4 separate regions of the Homo sapiens genome follow, and all the other regions are linked to region 2. The links are contacts of gene promoters, found by promoter capture Hi-C in blood cells and fetal thymus (Javierre and others, 2016). All regions are on one chromosome and are shown on one strand. The core of a region is centred on a gene start or on the middle of the fragment in contact, and the rest is flanking DNA. Distances in the headings are between cores, read along the strand shown. Region 1 has its middle 93 kb from the start of SAMSN1-AS1. Region 2 holds the start of C21orf91-OT1 (C21orf91 overlapping transcript 1). Region 3 overlaps HSPA13 (heat shock protein family A (Hsp70) member 13). Region 4 overlaps SAMSN1 (SAM domain, SH3 domain and nuclear localization signals 1).

What was found. The method cuts DNA at HindIII sites, captures the fragments that hold promoters and counts their contacts. A CHiCAGO score of 5 or more calls a contact.
Region 1: a fragment that was not itself captured here is called in contact with the fragment with the promoter of C21orf91-OT1 in region 2 in 1 of 17 cell types (total CD4 T cells); the score reaches 8.1 in total CD4 T cells.
Region 3: a contact is called between a fragment that was not itself captured here and the fragment with the promoter of C21orf91-OT1 in region 2, in 1 of 17 cell types (total CD8 T cells). The highest score is 7.2, in total CD8 T cells.
Region 4: a contact is called between a fragment that was not itself captured here and the fragment with the promoter of C21orf91-OT1 in region 2, in 2 of 17 cell types (activated CD4 T cells and non-activated CD4 T cells). The highest score is 9.6, in activated CD4 T cells.

Annotation. Positions count from the first base shown.
Region 1 is chr21:14,673,642-14,676,372 of GRCh38, reverse strand. No RefSeq gene overlaps it. Among named protein-coding and RNA genes, the nearest start is that of SAMSN1-AS1, 93 kb to the right of the region's middle. The HindIII fragment of the contact is 1,939 bases long and covers 300-2,238 here.
Region 2 is chr21:17,791,059-17,793,758 of GRCh38, reverse strand. It overlaps C21orf91-OT1 (C21orf91 overlapping transcript 1), which reads left to right and starts at 1,250. Exons shown (of 4, transcript NR_038871.1): 1 at 1,250-1,282. It overlaps C21orf91 (chromosome 21 open reading frame 91), which reads left to right. Exons shown (of 5, transcript NM_001100420.2): 5 at 178-2,700. The coding sequence ends at 344. All of the region lies in intron 2 of LOC124900465 (a long non-coding RNA gene), which reads right to left. The HindIII fragment of the contact is 3,892 bases long and covers 1-2,700 here.
Region 3 is chr21:14,379,733-14,382,432 of GRCh38, reverse strand. HSPA13 (heat shock protein family A (Hsp70) member 13) reads left to right here. Exons shown (of 5, transcript NM_006948.5): 2 at 890-1,230. Among named protein-coding and RNA genes, the nearest start is that of HSPA13, 2.1 kb to the left of the region's middle. The HindIII fragment of the contact is 1,839 bases long and covers 494-2,332 here.
Region 4 is chr21:14,536,356-14,539,055 of GRCh38, reverse strand. The region is part of intron 1 of SAMSN1 (SAM domain, SH3 domain and nuclear localization signals 1); the gene reads left to right. LOC124905053 (a long non-coding RNA gene) reads right to left here. Exons shown (of 3, transcript XR_007067925.1): 2 at 1,136-1,210; 3 at 528-640. Among named protein-coding and RNA genes, the nearest start is that of SAMSN1, 8.6 kb to the left of the region's middle. The HindIII fragment of the contact is 2,777 bases long and covers 1-2,679 here.

The DNA.
Region 1 (2,731 bases), core at 20-2,519, 3.1 Mb after region 2:
CAGCAACAGCTCCTTTTAGATCTGAGCATTTCCTCATTCTCACCTGACTGTAGAACATTACAAGTTTCCATTTGTGCTGAATTCAGATACATTCTTTCTTATTGGTGGAGGCAGTTAGGGTTAACTTCTTTTAGCCTGCTTTATGCAAGGCAAAATTTAATCAAAGTGATCTCCAGATTCCAGTAATATGACATTTCAACTGTGTATCCTGAAGAAAAACAGTGCATACAGATGTTTGCAAATGAAACCAGAGGAAAATACTAAATCTTTATTTTTTTCCTTAGCATTTAAAGAAAGCTTGTTTTTATTTCTGGACAATAACAATTTCTATGTTAGCCACTGTTTCCTCGTCAGTCTGAGAGAAGTAAAGCATTTTGTCTTCTCTGGCAGTTGGGGTTTCTAACGAGAGTCTGCTTATCCGCATATGAAAACAGGAAGTGCTGTTGGCTGGTGACTGACTTCCTTCACTTACTACCTGCTTGTCTAAAGTTTGGGCTTCATAAAATTGGTTCAATCTTCATGGTCCAAGTAAAATAGAAAATGAAGCAATTAACCATTTAATTTAAACGATATTAACAGTCTGAGTAATTCTAATATCGATCACTTTCACACCCTGAATTACTGATGAAGAAAAATCTATAAAGTGGAATATGGGTTATGATCCAGTGCCAAGCTGGGCCATTTAGGACATGAAGTGGACAATTTGGTTTAGTGTTGGCAAACAGCTAAACAAGCCATCTTCAATCATTTGCGACTTGCAATAGTAACTTAATGTTGTTTGATTTTATTTCATCTTCCTATTTCACTTTTTATGTTCTATATGGCATTTTTGCTTTTTAATAAGTAACTTTACACGTACTGAAGCAACTACATGTCACTTTGTTTATATATATATGTATTTTTTGAGATACAGAAAAGTCCTCTAATTTGCCTGTAAGGCAGTTTTGAAAGTTGTTGCTTTAGGAACAGAGGAGTGTAAGGAATCCTACAGAGAAAGTCCTAAGTCATATCTTGGAGATAAAGAAACTGAGGCCAAGAGAAATGAACTGCCTGAAATCAAACCACTGGTTACTGGTAGTTGCAGGCTGACAACAAAATGACTGCAATTGTTCTTGGTGTCTGTGTTTACATCCATTGCAATGTGACTTTGAATCTGACCATGCACTGTGACTTTCTTTGACTGATTGATAGAATTTGGAGAAAATAAGGATGCCAGCTCAGCAGCATAATTATAATATAACTAATGCATAATTTATTTAATTTACCTTTTCTTAAATTCCCAGAATATTTTATAAAACTAGCAGTTCTCATAGGGATTTTTCTTTTCACAATTTTGGCTTCCAGCTATCTGGCAAATTTTCAAAAATTTGTTTTCTTTGCTTGTATATTGTATAATTTCTTCGTATCTTCTACCTCATAAATCCTCCTAAAATGTTCTTTCCTCTCCTTTTTGTTTTTGAGTTTTTAGGAACATCTTTGGCTGAGGTGGAATTTCTGACTATGTTATTGGGCACTACTTTGTGGTACCAAGTTTTAATCCACTTAACAGCTTCCAGCATATTTACTTTTTTTGGCAGGCAGGTGATGCTCTCAGCTATGTCCACACCAGCAGGCAAAATTGCAATAAGCAAGCAACTCTTGGAATGAATAAAAAAAATCCTTCACAAGGGGGAGGTCAACCTGTTTTTGATAAATTTCAGTTTGTTGTCACCCGAAGCTATGCACGTTAGCATAAGGCATTATCATATTTGCAGCCCAAATAGAATCCTGTATCTGACACCCTCTTTTTCTTTAGATGATTTGCTCGTTCTTATATGAAAGGCAGTAAAATGTAATAAAATGAGCACTGAACTTTATGGTAAGAGCCTGAATTCGAATTCTAGATTATCCACCACTGAACTTTATGATAAGAAGCCTGAATTCAAATTCCAGATTATCCACCCATTAACTGTGCCACTTTGGGGAAGTCACTCAACTTTATGGTAAGAAGCCTGAATTCAAATTCTAGGTTATCCACCCATTAACTGTGCCACTTTGTGGGGGTTACTCAACTTTTCTCAACCCCAGTTTTTTTATTAGTTATTTTAGAGAATAAGGTAAAATATTGTAAAGCATTTTGTAAGCTGCAGACTCCAGTATCTACTTTTCTTCTGAGCTCCATACATTTTCAATTGCCTGTTAAACATTGATGGCTAAATGTCCCATCCAAAATGCATTTCGATGTGCACTACTCAAGCTTTCATTTTCTTCCGAATTCTCTAATTCTATTAAATCATACTAATAATTTGCCAGTTACCCAGGTTGCAAATGTTTAAATATGGTTTTGTTGCCACTCTCTCATTTATCCCTTATAAGTTATTCTTTTATTTATTAATTTTTGCATCCAGAAAATGCCTATTAATCACCTGCTGCCTTTTCTGTTGCTGTACATCCTCCCTCTTTCAATCGCATCTCTGCATTTCAAAGCAGGCTCTGCTCCATTTTATCTCCCTGTTTCACACTCTGCTCCTCTGGCTTTGGCATCTATCTTATATCTCTCAGCCCAGACGTTGACCTGATTGTATCACTTCTTGCTTAGTCTGCTTTTCTGGCCCCAGTGCCTCTTGTCTCTGATAAGAAGCGCTCCTTTGTTCCTAGTCTGTGCCCTGTAGGACCCCCTCCTCCCCATCCCAATGGTCAGCTGGGCCTTCTGAGCCAATTTGTTAGCATCCCCATTTCCATGATGGCAGGA
Region 2 (2,700 bases), core at 1-2,500:
GCCTAGGATGATCAGAACTGATATGCTTTGTAGAGAACAGAACTGTTTCCTTGGTATCAAATCAGTTTCATTGTGACACTTTGCCCAATGCATAGATTTCAGTTAGAGTTCTTGAAATATAAATCATAGCACCGGCTTTCTGCATACTAAAAATGAAAGTTTTTAAATCTTTTACAGAAGTTTTTGAAGAGTTAACTCACCAAGTGCAAGAAAAAGATTCTTTGGCCTCACAGCTCCATGTCCGCCACGTTGCCATCGAACAGCTTCTGAAGAACTGTTCTAAGTTACCATGTCTGCAAGTAGGGCGAACAGGAATGAAGTCGCACCTACCCATAAACAACTGACCTAAACAGACTTACTTCGTATGCCCTGCCCTTTATTGGTCTCCCAGACATGCAAACTTTGAAGAAGTTTGAAGAAAGTTGTGGTCCGTTTTTTTATGGTCATTAAATTTGCCAAACATAAGGCAGTATTTAACATCTTTGTCAAATAAAGCAGATCATTATACTCTAGTCTTCTAGGGCTAATCATTTTGGCTCATTTGGGGACTCTTTTTTCCCAGAATTACTAAACAAATTTTATCACATGTGACTACTTAAATATACTGTTACAGTGTCATTTTATTAAACATTTTAATTCACCTGTCAAAACAACAGATTAACTCCTTAGTGTAAACTACTAGAGATAATTTTTAAGAGGGAAATGGAATTCATATCACCTCTTATTTATTATGAGCAATATTTTAATATAAAAATTTTATATGTGAAAATGCTATTTTAGGTACTTTGCCATTCTCTTTATAAATGTGTATTTGAGTGGTTCTGTATATTTATTTACATTATCATGTGTGAATATGTTCACCCATATTTCAGGTCACTGCATTTTATTCTCTTAATACAATGTTTTCACAACGGTTACCTTGCTTTCCAAAGATAAATATATTTTGGATTAGAAATCTGAGTTGTTTTAATTTCTAATACCTCTTGTAAAAGAAGAATTAATAACTTTTTAAAGCAGTATTCAGGTAAATACAATACATTATTTTGTTTTCTAACAAAAGCAGTTCTTAGTTCAGGAAGAAAAGACTAATCTGGCTTCTATGTCAATTTGTCTCCATAGAAATGAAAGCCTCCTCTTGCTTCTTTCATTATTAGCTTCACACCAGTGACTGTGATGCATTAGAATTTGGACAGAGTAAGTCAAGCCTCACTTCCAATTCAAATATAATGTCTATCTTCAAATTGAGTGTGCTGTGAAATTGTTCTGTCTTTGAAAAAAAAAAGTAAGATTATTTTGTGTGCCACTTTGGGTAAAGTTTCAAGAATACTTAAACTGTCCAAATTGTATTATCACCATCATTGAACTTAGTGCTCAAAGAAAGCATTGTGAGGTATTTTTCTAAACTTTAGACTCTATAGAGAAATATAGGATTGTTCTACAGAAGAAAAGCAAAACTCCTAATTAAAAAAAAATAAACCTATGTATTAAGAGAATGTTCTCGTAAGTTGCCTATGATGCTTCCAAAGAGTTTTTATCTAACAGATTGTGCCAAACAGCTAGATAAATTTTAATAATGTATTACAGTAAAGGCTATAACCAATGCAGAATTAAAATGGGCTCTAAATTCTGTTTTTAACTCATGTTTAGAATGTACTTATGAGGTAGATCCTTGCTTGAAAGTATCTGCTGAAAAGCCCAGTAACGTGGCAGCTTCATGCATAAAGATATAAATGACATTTGCCTTAAATTTGGCAGCCTACCCTGGCTTGGGTCAGATTTTGTTGTTGAACACAAGAAAGTATTTAAGCAAAGAAACACTTCAGTTTAATTGAAAACAACTTTTTGTAATGCTGACGTGTTAAATTGGCCTGAGGGTATTAATTGATATCTGTTGATTTTGTTTTTCTTTGAAGTATAACATTACTTTTTGGAGGGAATTTTTGAAAGATGCTTTCGATTTCTCTCAATTCTTTAAGTCATGCAAAATGAATTTAAAATCCAGGGAGTATGGATGCATTGCCTTAGTTTTGATGAGCTTTAAATTAAATGTGTGCAATATCAAAATATTCAAACTTACAAGCTGGGTAAATACATTTCCTGATTAATATCTTAGTGCTTAATTGTTCCCACATTTTCAAATTTGACTTTACTCTTTTTTGGCGTAATTCAGTAAGATTGTTACCAGCCAGTGTGTTTGCACACATTTGGGTTTGTGTTTAGATGAGTTAGGGACAGTCATAAAAGTTGGGGATATGTTGCATTTGATATCAATAGTAGCATATTTCCAGAATATGAGCCATAAGTTGCAGTCCTGAATACAACAGTGTTATCCAAAGAAAGGAGTTTTCTGACAAATATACATAGCTTTGCTAATGAGTACGGAACAAGTGGATGAACGTGTGCATGTGCTAAGGTCTTAAGTGGGACTCTGATTTATTCCATTTAGATATTTCTACTTAAGCTCTAAAAAGGAGAGGTGCTCTTAAAAAAAACTTTGTGGTGCTGGTACTCACACTACTTTATTTGGATGAGTTCCTAGTAAAAAAAACTTTTTGTTGAAGTATTTTGCACAGCAGTTTATCCAAATGTTTGGTAAACTTATAATTTAGTCCTATGTTAGTTTTCTTAATCAAATATGCAATTACTGTGTATGCAAATATAAGTATCAGGTACAGAGTTGAGTTCTAACAAGAGAACATG
Region 3 (2,700 bases), core at 164-2,663, 3.4 Mb after region 2:
CACAGCCTCCTGATACCAAATACGAGATTCATTAAAAACTAAAGGGGCATCTTTCTTCGCTTATGTTTACAATCTGCGTGGCATTTGTTCCTACTCTTTTTTCTTTTTTTTTTAAATTAGTATTTGTTGGGCATCTGCTATTCCTGGTCTGGGGGATACAACAGTGAACGAAACTTGTCTTCAAGAAGCTTTCATAGATGTTGCCGTCAGGGTTGCCCACCTTTATGCTTCTTCTCCCCTAAATATTACCACTGCAAGAAGGAAGTCCCTAGTTCATACTTAAATACATAAAAAGTTAACTGTGTTCTGTTTTGAAGTGACAGTTTCATATCTAAGGAACTTTCAAAATCATTTTATCCCATTTATTCATTTCATCCTTTTGAAAGGGAAAAGGAGGTGAGATACGAGGAGAGAATTTTAGACTTATAAAATAATAAAGTTTTTCTTGTGAGAATTTTAATAATGGAGCTTTTAAAAAAAGATAATCGAAGCTTTTTATAAAGCTGTAAAATCTAAATATCAATTGATCAAGAATATTAGATTATATCTGGCTTTTGCTCCAGATAAATGTTGTTTCTTGTCAGCATCTGCACAAATATTATTGAAATATTTTTACATTTTATTACATTTATTAGAGAATGACACAAACATACAGTTATAGGGTTTTTTGTTGTTTGTGTTTACTTCATTTTAAATTTTATTATAACCAGTTTACATTTTGAAAAACTTGCTGTCTGAGAGGAGTGCTATCAGCAGTCCTATAAAAAATTTTGAAATTTGTCTTTTTTAGCCTTGTTTCAACGAGTGATATTAAAGGGACTTTGCTACAGTAATTTAGTACATTGTACTAGTTTGATAAAATACATCTTTTAATTTTCCTTTATTTCAGGATCGGCTGTTTTGACTCTCCTGTTGGCCGGCTATTTGGCACAACAGTATTTACCATTGCCTACTCCTAAAGTGATTGGTATTGATCTTGGCACCACCTATTGTTCTGTTGGGGTGTTTTTTCCTGGCACAGGAAAAGTAAAGGTGATTCCAGATGAAAATGGGCATATCAGCATACCCAGCATGGTGTCTTTTACTGACAATGATGTATATGTGGGATATGAAAGCGTAGAGCTGGCAGATTCAAATCCTCAAAACACAATATATGATGCCAAAAGATTCATAGGCAAGATTTTTACCGCAGAAGAGTTGGAGGCTGAAATTGGCAGATACCCATTTAAGGTAAGTGATTAATCTAAAATCTATATTAATTTTAGTGTACTCTTTTAGTTAATGCTTTGGCTTCATGTCACAAAACATTCTATCTCGTCTAGTTTTATCTATTAATACATGAAAGTTCTGTTATCTCACATAACCAGAAATTCCACAGCAGCTATAGGATCAGTTAATCACTGACTCCATAATGCTAACAGGTACTTAAGGCCTTGCCATTTTCTTGCTGTCCCATCCTCAGCATGTCTTGCTTAGCTCTTTCAAGGTAGCAGGAAGGTTGATGAAGCCCTGTGTACCATAGATAGATATTCTGTGTGTGTATGTGTACATATTTATATACATATAAAGAGAACATACCAGGTGTGCTATTTTTTGCTATTTAATATGTCATGGATAATTAATAGGATCATGTCATTATCTTTAATGATTTTGTGGAATGACTATTCCATTATTAATTAGACTAGTCTCTATCAGTGTACTTTTTTGTGGTTTTTCACTAATGTTGGAGATTCCGGTAATATCCTTACTTATCTTTGTACACTTCTCTGAAAGTTTCCTAACTTGAATGCTAGAAGTCTAATTGATAGGTCAAATGTGTACGTTTTTAAGGCTTTTGATTTATTTTTCTGGTTTGCTCACCAGAAAGGTTATATGCTCTTAACCATAATTTTTTAGAGTGGCTGTATCTTCGCTAGTTATTTTTTTTAATCTTTAACAGTCAGATAAGTGAAAAATAGTATCCTGTATTAATTTTTATTTATTTTGATTTTTTTTAGTGAGATCAGAATTTTTAGAATTTTATTGATATTTTAATTTTCTTTTATGGTCCATTTTTCTTTGTCCTTTTTTGTTTTGGTGTGTTTTTCTTTTCCTTAGTGAGCTATAAAAGACCTTCATTATATGTTTTTGTTATCTTTTCCTTACCTTTTTTTTTTCACTGATGTTTTTGAGCTGGATGTCAAAGTTTTAAATTTTTGATTTTAGACTCTTATCATGTTTACTGTAGCCTATCCCATCCTATCCACTGCTACTTTTTTTTCCCTCTTAATACGTTTATGTATTTGTTGGTTTGGATTTCGCTGCTTTTTTTTTCTTTTAAACATTTAAAGCTTTTTTCCATGTGGAGTTTTTCTTGGAAGTTATGAAGTGAAATTCTAAATGAAGTGAAATTCTAAATGAATTAGTTTTTGTTTTTTTTTTTGAGACAGTCTCATTCTGTCTCTCAGGCTGGAATGCAATGGCATGATCTTGGCTCACTGCAACCTCTGCCTCCCAGGTTCAAGTGATTCTCCTCCCTCAGCCTCCCAAGCTGGCATTACAGGCGTGTGCCACCACGCCTGGCTAATTTTTGTATTTTTAGTAGAGACGGGATTTCACCATGCCGGCCATTATTTAGTTTCAAAATAGACAGTTGTATCAGTGCTGCTTATTGAATAAACCTAGCCATAAAAATGTTCAAATTTTTCATCCGTTTTCAAA
Region 4 (2,700 bases), core at 42-2,541, 3.3 Mb after region 2:
GAAAATAGAAAGACATGGATCCCACAAATTAAAGTTAGTGACTGTAATTAGAACATCTTGGCCTTTACTTGAGAGGGATTAATGATCCGTGTTAATAAATTTTAGCAGGTTTTTCTTTGAGTAAAGGAGATTCAAGTACCATTGTTATTTTTGAGGGAAACGTTAGAATAATGACAGTTCTGGAAATAGCCTTTTTTTTAACCATTCTTTTTAATCTAAAGTGCATACTAAATGAGACACCATTAGTGTCACAGATGCTAATTTTCACTAGCAATGACTGAAGTGGCATTCTTTCCCATTTGCATTTGATCCTAGCAATGATGAGAGGTGATGAGTTGATTATGAGCTGTTTTCACTGCACTGCCTGCTGTGCAAATTTATGCTCCTAGACAAGGATGACACATAGTTGTACCATTAAAGAGCTTTCTTCACTGTTTTTTTGTATCAAGACTGCTAGGATACATTTTTAACTCTTATCTAACCAGGTATAAGAAAGAGAATAAGTATTTATATGCACTGGTGCTTACTTGAGGCCAGGTACTTGTCCAAGGTGCTCATGTCCATTATTATGTTTAATCTTCTCAAAACCCCAGGAGGTAGACATTATTTTTATCTCCAATTTACAAAGAAGAAAAAAGCCCTGTAGATGCAAAAATTTTCCACAAGTTAAAAGATTTGGGATTTATGGCACAGTTTTTCTGCTTCTAAGCCTGTGTCTCTCTCCTCCTACTCTCTATTACTTCTTCATCTGGGGTACAATTTTTGTTGAATGTTTGCCTTTTCAAACAGAGTTTTCTGGAATAAAATACATGATATAAAATGTAGGTAATATGTTAGATTTACTCTTTTCCCCTTTAAAAAACGGTGGCTATAAGTAAATATTTATTTTAACTTCTAGTTATTACCTCCGTCCGCTCCAAAAACAAAACAAAACAAAAAACCAGATATCTCAAAAGGTTGTCTTCATTTTTGTGTTTATGTAGCATTTATAGCATTTTAAAAAGTATTTTTGATAAACTATAATGCAAACATAAAACCAAATAAGACAAGTCAGGAGAAAATGAAGTCTAGAACATGTTAAAATGTATCTCAAGGTTCATCAAGGCTGACTTGAATCTAAGAACTTGCTACTCACTGTGGTCCTATAGAGCAACAGCACGGGCATTCCAGGAGCTTGTTAGCCATGTGCATTTTCCAGTCTCCCCCAGGCCTACGAAATGAAAACATACATTTTAACAAGATACTCAGCAGTTCTGTGAGCACTTTATAATTTGGAAATGATGCTCTAGGTTGATGGTTTTTGGAGCCTAGGCCGAATATTTGAATCACTAAAGAGCTTTAAAAAAAAAACTGATGATTGGGTTCCATCCCCAAATATTCTTATTTACCTAATATAAAATGTGACTGGACATCAAGAATTTTTAAAGTTTTCCAACCTGGCAGCACTTTTTTCTACTTTTCAAAAGACTTAAAAGTTAATTCACTAATCCATGCATTCGTTCATTCATTTATCCTTCAACGCAACAAATGTCTATTAAATGCTTATTATGGACAATACACTGGCGATACCAAGGTGAACAAAAGATACCATATTTGCTGGAGATGACAGACAATAAATAGGATAAATAAGTAATATATACAGTATGCTAGATAATGATAGGTGCCAAGAAGAAAAAAAAATTAACAGAAAAGAAGGATTTGAAATATGAAGAACTAGAGAAGCCTTGGTGAGAATGGGACATTGGAAAAAGGACTGGAAGAAAGTGAAGGAGCTGGTCTTGGGATTGGTGAAGGAAACTGTACTCTGGGCAGAGGGAAGAGCAAGTGCAAAGGCCTTGAAATGGGACTGTCTCTGGTGTGTTTGAGAAGCAGTGGGGCAGAGTGCATAGCGGGAAGAGCCGCCGCAAAGAGCTGGATCACTGAAGGCGTTCTAGGCCATTAAAATAATTTTAGCTAGTGTTGAAAGATGTTTGAGAAGTGACAGAATCTGGCCTACAGTTTAGTGGGTTTATTTTGGCTTTTGTGTTTCAAATATACTGAAGGGAGTGAGACCAGTTAACAGACTATTGCAGAAACCAGGCAAGGGATAACTGTGGTTCAGACAAAGGAACGGCCCAGTTGACTTTGGTGTTGAGAAGACTCTAAATTTGGGATATATTTGTACTTACTTTATCCATTTGGATGTTTATAGGTAACTTACTACATGCTGTCTAAAGATGGCAGACAGAAAGTTTCCACTGTCCGGTCCCATTCTTGCTTCCAGTTGGTGCTTGCATGCCAAGGAGAAATGGCCTCATTCCATTGTTTACAGTCACCAGAAATTCACCCCTAAATTGATGTCTCACTTTGCAAAGGCTTCTTCTTCTTCTTTCTTAAACATATAATTTTCCATTGGATTTTATTTTAATTCGTAGTGCACCTTTTAAATAATTTTTAGCCTTGACCACTTCTCTCCAAACAAAGCACTAATACATTTTAGCTTTTCCGTTTTACAGAATATGAATCTGTAATCAAGTTTTATCCCAAGCAGGTAGCAAAATGTTTGGGGCCAAATGTATTAGCTATACTTGAAAAGTGTTCAGATAATATTCAGAAAGATCAGATGAATAGCTAGAGAAATGACAGAAGTGTAGCCTCCCCTTTGTTTGGAAATTTGGATATTGTATTTTATAGGAAGCTTTATAAGGTCACTACCTTGAC